3 separate regions of the Homo sapiens genome follow, and regions 1 and 3 are each linked to region 2. Evidence: promoter capture Hi-C in 16 types of primary human blood cells and fetal thymus (Javierre and others, 2016). All regions are on one chromosome and are shown on one strand. Each heading gives the region's core, a stretch centred on a gene start or on the middle of the fragment in contact. The rest is flanking DNA. Distances are from core to core; before and after follow the strand shown. Region 1 has its middle 16 kb from the start of KRT33A. Region 2 holds the start of KRTAP1-3 (keratin associated protein 1-3). Region 3 holds the start of LOC105371778 (a long non-coding RNA gene).

Region 1 (2,700 bases), core at 168-2,667, 300 kb after region 2:
GGGACATCCTCCCTGGACTACTGTCCCACTCATCCATCCATTCATCCATTGGCCCACCTCTAGTACTGTCCCAACTACAGCCCTAGCAAGCGGAGACAACAAAAAGACCAGTTTTCCAGCTTTGTGGTCTTGGAAGAAGTTGCTACCAGTATGAGGAGAGACAATCAGTTTCCTCCAGGATCCAGAGAGCATATCAGCCAGCCTGAGGGTCAGGAAAGGAGGTCGGCCTCTCCACCAGCTAGACAGGCCTGCAGTAGGATGGGGCTGGGGCTGGCCATGCAGATCACTTGGGCCTCATGAGGGGAAAAGAAAGACCAGGGGGCAGAGGAGGAGCATGGGGGCAGCTGGTGGCCTCAGAAGAAGGCACCTCAGAGAAGGGGTCTGTCTTAGTTTGTTTTGTTTTCACACTGCTATGAAGAAATACCTGAGACTGGGTAATTTATCAAGGAAAGAGGTTGAATTGACTCACAGTTCAGAAAGCTTGCAATCATGGTGGAAGGCGAAGGGGAAGCGGGCATCTTCTTCACAAGGCAGCAGGAGGGAGTGAGAAAACGAGGAAGTGCCATGCTTTAAAACCATCTGCTCTCCTGAGAACTCACTCACTATCAGGGGAACAGCATGGGGGAACCCAGCCCCCTATAATACAATCACCTCCCATGAGGTTCCTCCCTTGACACATGGGGATTACAGCTCAAAATGAGATTTGGGTGGGGACACAGAGCCAAACCTATCAGTGTCTCACGTCTTGCAGCTCCCCTGGGGCTAAAGCTGAATGCAGATCTGCTGACCCTGATCTACAGCTTGCGGAAGCTCTGCCTGTGTGCCCCCATCTGCTGCTTCCTAGGGTTGGGGCCTGCTTCCTCAAAAGGAGAGTGGATCTGTTCTCCTGCCAGCCCCCCACAGGGCCTTGTGGAGCCCTGGCCATGTCCTCCCAAGGTGAGGTCATAAAACTGGGCTCCTTGCCCTTCTTGTTGCTTGGGTGACAAGCCTCGGGTCATCCCTAGGTCCTGTCACTGCTCCTGCTTCTAAAAGGAGAGCATTTTGCCAAATCTTCCTGGGAGAGGCTGGGGGCTCATCCCTGTTATTTGTTCTAGCTTGGTAAAATGAGGTTAAGACATCTAGGCAAGCAGACAATAGAGGGGCACCCAGGAAGGGTGGGTGGCGGGTGCTGGCATTTGGGCTTGCCTGGACCTTGTGGGGAGGGGGAAAGGTTACCAGGAGGCAGCACTGTCAGTCAGGGCTAAAGTCAGGAAGTGGGGGGAGTGGGGGCAGAGTGTGGCTGGCTTGCGGGGGGGCATAAGTGAGAGCCAAGATTTGTCAGCATGCAGTGGGTGTGGCTGACACCTGGCCTAGGGGCTGTGGAGCCCAGTGGTTGCTCTTAGTTCCTGGATCCAGGGAGATTTCTGGAGCCTGTGCCTGGGGCTTTCTAGGGGTGAAGATGGTGAGGGGCAGGGAAAGGGTGGCAGAGGAGGCCTTGCATGGCAGGGTGCAGGGCAGGATGCTGGGCAGGGACCAGATTGCAGTGGCTGCTCTCATCCCCACCACTACCCCTACCTCTACCCCAACCCTGGAGCAGGGTGGGGCCTTGGCAGGTGTCCTCTGTTTTGGCCTCGGCAGATCACAGGATGGAAGCCAGCAGTCCAATAGGCGTGCCACTCAAGCCAGCAGTGACCTGCAGCTTCTGCTTCCTGGAGAGTGGGGTGCCCACCCAAGAGAGCACAAGCACACCCCACACCCCTGACCTTGAGGGCACTGGGAGGTGGGGGCACTGTACTGGGACCAAGTCCCGGCAGCCTTGTGCGTGTGCCCTGGAAGGTAGCCTAGGAGTCCTGCGTGTGCCTCTCTGCACAGCAGGGAGGGGTGGGCAGGAGCCTGAACAGTGGCAGAGAGGGAGAGGAGGAGGGAGAGAGAAGTGGAGAAGGAGAGAGAAAGAGACATGGGAAGAAAGGAGTGAGAGAGAGAAAGAGAGATGGGGAGAGAGACAGAGACAGAGGAGGCTGAGAGGGAGTGTGGGGAGAGAGATAAGGAGAGAGACATAAAAGGTAGAGAGAGAGACAGGGAGAGATGCGCATGAGCAGAGGTCAGGTCACTCTTGATCTTAGTTCCCAGTGCAAACTGTAGGTCACCATCACCTGCCCACACATGCACTAAAGAGCTCTGTGCCTGCTGCCCACAGCCCCTGAGAACTCCTTCTCTTGAAGAATAAAACTTTTGATGGCTGCCATTCCTCACTGGATTTTGGTTGTGTCTTTGATGAACCATGATGTCCCACCTTCCCGGGCTCAAGTCTCCACCAAAAGCTGATGCCTCTTTTTGGGAGGCTCTGCAGTGCCTTCATCTCACTAGGCTCCCCAGGAAGCTTGTGAGCTTGGGTTGGACCCTAAGCAGTCAGATACATGCTGGGGCTCTGCTTGTCTCTTTCACTAACAGGGAAAGCCAAGAAAGAGATTGAAGCATGGTCTGCAGAGAAGGCACTTGTGCAAACACCAGGAGAACAAGAAGCCTGAGTTGTCTTCATTTCTCTTAAAAACACTCATTCCCTCCCATGCCACCTTAGTGAGGGCATGAAGCACAGCATGTGTGTGTATGTGTGCAGGTATGTGCACATGTATGTATGTGCATGTGTGTGTGTGTTGCAGGGGTGTGCTGTGGACAGGAGGTCCAGGGGGCAGCTCCAACTCAAAGCTGCAAGTCTCTGTG
Region 2 (2,700 bases), core at 167-2,666:
TTTTTCATGGTTAGTATATAGAAATGCAATTTATTTTTTTTAGTAGAGATGGGGTTTCACCATGTTGGCCAAGCTGATCTCAAACTCCCGACCTCGTGATCTGTCTACCTTGGCCTCCCAAAATGCTGGGATTACAGGTGTGAGCCACCGTACCCAGCCAGAGATTTTGATTTCTGTAACTTCCTGGTTGTGAAAGCACTGTGTAAGGTTAAGTTATGGTAACAGAGCCTTTGCCATTTCTGAGGCCCTAAATAACTACACTTACTCTATGTTTTTATGGTCATTAACCTCCACTGGACCTCTGGATAACAAATTTCCTAATGTGGTATTAGAAGAGAAGGGATATCAAAAGCAGATTAAAGTTTTTCATATGACATTCTATGAAATATACATCCTGAGTACACTCAATGAAAAAAAAAAGATATGTTTGTTGCACCAATAGTTAAAATTTATTAGACCTTGGTATATTATTCCTCTTTCATAGGGGGTGCAATTTGCAGGACGGTGGGATACAGGAAGTGAGTGTCCTGAGAAGGACAGATGGCTCTTCCATGGTCTCGTCGGCGCTGAGACTCAGAGCGTGGGCTTCAATGCTTGCAAAGGCTCAGTTTCAAGGTAAATCGGCTTTTTCATTTCTTGGGTCAAATTTGTATTTTGGCGTCCTCAGAGAGAAGAGTAAGGTCTTTCTGGAATTGAAAGGAATCAGATAATTCTGAGGCCAAAATATTTGGTAACCCCCATAAGAAAGACAAAGAAAGGTTGAAGAATTTGTTCGTTGTCCATAAGTGCTTGAAGAAATAATTCGTTCATGAATGGAACTGAAAGTGGAAATTTCAAGTTGAAAATCAGCAAACTGGCTTTTAGCAGGTGGGCTCACAGGAGTAGCAGCAGCAGACTGGGCGGCAGCAGGACTGTCCACAGTAGGATGGGCGGCAGCAGGAGGCCTCGGCGTGGTGCAGCTGGCAGCAGGTTGGGGGTGTGCAGCTCACCACACAGCAGGGGGGCAGGCAGGTACCCTCCACACGGCAGTCTGGGCGGCACCACCTGATACGGGTGCTCACAGCTCCACTGCTGCCCTCCTGGCCATAGCCAATGCCACCACCAATGCCACAGCCAGTTCCGCAGGAGCTGGTCTGGCAGCAGCTTGGCTGGCAGCAGCTGGTCTCACAGCAGCTTGGCTGGCAGCAACTGGAGCTGCAGGTCCCACTAGTTGAGAAGCTAGGAAATCCGCAGAAGCTGGTCTGGCAGCAGCTTGGCTGGCAGCAGCTGGTCTCACAGCAGCTTGGCTGGCAGCAGCTGGAGCCGCATGTCCCACTGGTGGAGCAGCTGGGATATCCACAGAAGCTGGTCTGGCAGCAGGTCATGGTGTTGGGAGCTGGTATGAAGTCTGGGTTGCTTGGAGGAGTTTCTGAGTTTTGGTGATGGCTGCCACATTGGGCCTTTTATAAGCCTGGGCCAGCTACTGTTTACATAATTCCAGAAGTCTCTTGCTTATTTGTGTTGGATAATTTGTCTCTGAATGATAATTGGCCTCTCCCTGAATTATTTGTTGAACCTACTGAGAGCCTTTGAAAGTTGATTGTATTTGGTCTGCAATTAGGCTTCTTTACCATGGTCAAGAAGTCATTGGCATTAATTAGGAATATGATCCCTAACTCCTCATGTTTCTTAAAATTTCCTCATGGTCAAGGAATAATTGACTGATGCCTCACCTTTAAGGATTGTCAATATTACTCAGTGTTGACCCTTACAACTGGGTGATTGGGTCTCACATGACAGTTTAATTCCCTCCAATTTTAACTGTGGCTCCTTCTCTAACTTTCTTATCTTCCCTTTGACTGTGAAGCAAGACTATATTCAGCTGGCCAGAAAGGGATGCTTTCTTGGGCCTGGGAGATTTGCATTAATTGCTATTGATAACATTTTCCCATCACTGATTATGTGCCTAAATAGTTCTGAGTACTTCGCATGTATCAATTTGCTGAATTTTCACGGCAATCTATGGGCTAGGTATCACTGCCACTCCCATCAACCATGTGAGAAAACTGAGCCACAACAGGTTGAAGTAACTTACCCTAGTTCACACTAGTATCTAGTGAATCTGAAATTTGAATCCACAACCTCTGATTCCAGACTAAACTCTTTAAACACTATAGTCAATTCTTTCTCTCTTTCTCTCTGTCTTTCTCCCTTCCTTCCTTCCTTCCCTCCTTTCTTCTTTCTTTCTTTCTTTCTTTCTTTCTTTCTTTCTTTCTTTCTTTCCTTCTTTCTCTTTCTTTCTTTCTTTCCTTTCTTTCTTTCTTTCCTTCCTTCCTTCCTTCCTTCCTTCCTTCCTTCCTTCCTTTCTTTCTTTCTTTCTTTCTTTCTTTCTTTCTTTCTTTCTTTTTCTTCTTTCTCCTTTCTTTCTTTCCTTTCTTCTTTTTTTATGTAAAAAGTCATTCTAAGGAAATTCCAATGGTGAAAGCAAGCCGTAAAAATTTGCTTCCTTTCTTACGGACTTTTTTGAGAGTAAAAGGAAGGAAGGGAGAGCTTAGGGTAAGTAATAACACAGTTTACTACAGCCATTCCTAGAGATTTTATTTATTTATTAACAGCATAATAAGCACAGTTCAAGAAAATCTTAAGTGCTAAAAAAGTTAACCTTCTTGTGACTTTGTCTCATCTTTTATCTTAGGATATTCTATAGATTTAGATTTTTTA
Region 3 (2,700 bases), core at 183-2,682, 320 kb after region 2:
TTTGCTAGGTCACATTTCCAAGTGCCAAATTCCAAATTCATGGTTCTCAGAAAGAGGAATAGATCCTTTCTGGGACAGTTCCTGATGGCCATGTTTCCTGATATGATGGGCTTTTTTCATGTCCATGATGACGTCAATCAACCAAATAATAGATATCCACTATGACAATTTCATCCAGGGCGATGTAATAGACACTGGGAGGGGTGGAAAATAGGACTCAATGCTATGGTCAGAAGAAGTTCTTACTTGTTAAGAAACTGCACAAGCCCAAGGTAGTGTGGACACTTTTCACAAACTAGATCCTTTTTACAAACATGATCCTCAAACATGCAGAACTTAGATGTCCATTATTCCTCACCAGAACTCTTAAAGGTAAACTGTATAATTCCCATTTTATAGATGAGAACACCAAGGCATAGAGGGTGAGGATAATAAGTTGTGGACCTAGGATTCCAAAGCAGATCACTTTTCTTTTCATCACAACACTTGGCTTAAATATAAATGGCTTACTTCCTTCCCTTCTTCAGACAGGCCGTCCCTTTCTCCTCTCCAAGCTCTCTTTTTACCTTGAGCATGACACTGTCATGACTTATGTGCTTGTCTCTCTGTCTCTATTTGAGGTCCCTGAAGGCAAGGGCAGGGTCTAGTTTGTCTTTGAATCCCCAGCTCTAGGCACCTGGTAGGCACTGTTGAATGGGTGTGGGTAGAGTGATGAAGGGATGAACAGGAAATAATAATCTGAGGCAGAAGTTGACAAGTGATAACTGAGTGGTTTACACACTGGGGAGGGCGAGCAGCTCCAGGATTGGAGGCTCTTAGGAATGGATGAATGGATTTGTGCTGGGATAGGGAGGCTTCTAAGAAGCAGAGGGGAGAAAAGTAGGAAGTGCAGGTGAGGAGAATAATGTGCACACAGGAATGGGGTGGGAAAGCCCAAGGCATGGTTGAAGGACCAGGGTAAGTCTAGGCAGCAGGAAGGGGAGAGTTGTGAAGGGAAGTGCTAGAAATTAAAGCTTTATGGGGGATTGTATGGGGACCCTATGGTAGGGGGTCTCGATGGTGAAGTGGAGCAGCTTGGACTTCCCCAGAAGCTGTAGAGCCAGTATAAGCTTTTGAACCTAAGTGTGGTGTGACAAAAGGTGTTTTAGGAAATGTTTTAGCAAATATTTATCTGTTTTTGAAAAATGAAGGAAAGATTGGAGGCAAAGAGTTCAGCAAAGAGACTATTGCAACAGTCCATGCAAGACTAGAATTTATGGCAGGGATGATGATACAGATAAGGTTTAGTACAAGTGAGAGAGTTAGAGAACTGGGCCAAGGGAGAGTACAAAGAGAAGAGCAACAAGGAGCTGAGGACCAAACTTTGGAGAATTTCCCAATCAGAGATCAGGAGAAGGAAAAAGAATCTGTGATAAATGGAGAAATGGTGAGAAAAAAATGATAAAAACAAGTTCATGGCATCCCAGAAGGGCAGGAAGGAGGGTGCTTCCAAGAGGAGGTGATGTTAGAAGTGCCAAGTGCAGCAAAGGGGCCGCACATGATCAGGACCATGGAGAGGGTATTGGCTGCCTTGACCAGAAATTTACCAGGACCTTTCCAGGGTCACACAGGTATGCCTGCTGTACGCAGCGCCTGTGCACATTCTTAAAGTAATGCCCACAGTGAACTTCGGTAAACCAAGACTTCAAACACACAGAATTGAGATGTTCATTACTTAGAGAAGTTCTGCTGCAATAAATTTATATATCTGATTATTAAGCTTGGAGCTTTGATCTTACCAATACAGACTTTTATACAATAATTGGAGTGGGCTTTACGCAGATGCCAGACTTGTTTGAACTTGATGATTCGTAATAGTTTATTATTTAGGAACAATTATCCAAGAAGCATGAGTAATCTGAACTGACCGTGCATATGACACCACTTCTGTTTTGTCACAAGATGTAAGATGAGCCTTATTTGATATCCTAAAGAGGCAATGAGGAAAAAATTCAAGTATGGGCCTGAGGAGGCATACATTGGCCAGAAAGAGGAGGGGCTTCCTATGTCCTTGCTAGCAGAGGATAAAGCAGACAACAGATTCCAAGCCTCCCAGCTACAGCTACCAATCCAAGCAGCTTCCAAGCCTCCCAGCTACAGCTACAGACCAAAAACCAGATGGCTTTGCATTTGGCTCTTCTCTTCCTCCCTCTTACCTCCTAACATAGATCCTAAATATGAAAATGGTTAAAAGAGAGAGGGAAAATCTTGGAACAAGATATTGGGGATCCTAATGGTCAACTCATCCAAACCGTTCGTTTTACGAAGGGGAAACTGAGGCTCAGAATGGAGAAATGCCTTGCTTAGTATCATCTAGCTAGGACCCAGATCTTCTGATTCCCACTGCATTATCAGCCCAATCACCATTCTACTGAAATGTTGAAGAATTTCACAAACAATCTGATCTGTTATTACCTAAGGACAGAAATCAAGGGCAGTGAGAAAAACATCTTGTTAACCATAGATATGCTGTGTTGAAGAAGAATTATGAGTCAATGTGTAAATAAAGATAGAATTCAGCAATAGTACAGTTTCTTGTTAACTCTCTGATTTCAATTATTTCTAAGTTGATGATACAATTATATACCAACAATTTGGAGTAATTTAAACATAATTATATCCCATCAGATATAGATTATATCCCATCTGTTTGGAGCAACT

Evidence for each region. The method cuts DNA at HindIII sites, captures the fragments that hold promoters and counts their contacts. A CHiCAGO score of 5 or more calls a contact.
Region 1: a fragment that was not itself captured here is called in contact with the fragment with the promoter of KRTAP1-3 in region 2 in 1 of 17 cell types (naive B cells); the score reaches 7.3 in naive B cells.
Region 3: a fragment that was not itself captured here is called in contact with the fragment with the promoter of KRTAP1-3 in region 2 in 1 of 17 cell types (total CD8 T cells); the score reaches 5.4 in total CD8 T cells.

What each region holds. Positions count from the first base shown.
Region 1 is chr17:41,333,873-41,336,572 of GRCh38, forward strand. No RefSeq gene overlaps it. Among named protein-coding and RNA genes, the nearest start is that of KRT33A, 16 kb to the right of the region's middle. The HindIII fragment of the contact is 1,879 bases long and covers 479-2,357 here.
Region 2 is chr17:41,033,458-41,036,157 of GRCh38, forward strand. KRTAP1-3 (keratin associated protein 1-3) reads right to left here and starts at 1,417. Exons shown (of 1, transcript NM_030966.2): 1 at 427-1,417. The coding sequence starts at 1,364. The coding sequence ends at 861. The HindIII fragment of the contact is 12,344 bases long and covers 1-2,700 here.
Region 3 is chr17:41,351,232-41,353,931 of GRCh38, forward strand. It overlaps LOC105371778 (a long non-coding RNA gene), which reads left to right and starts at 266. Exons shown (of 2, transcript XR_001753056.1): 1 at 266-372; 2 at 1,191-2,567. The HindIII fragment of the contact is 650 bases long and covers 1,108-1,757 here.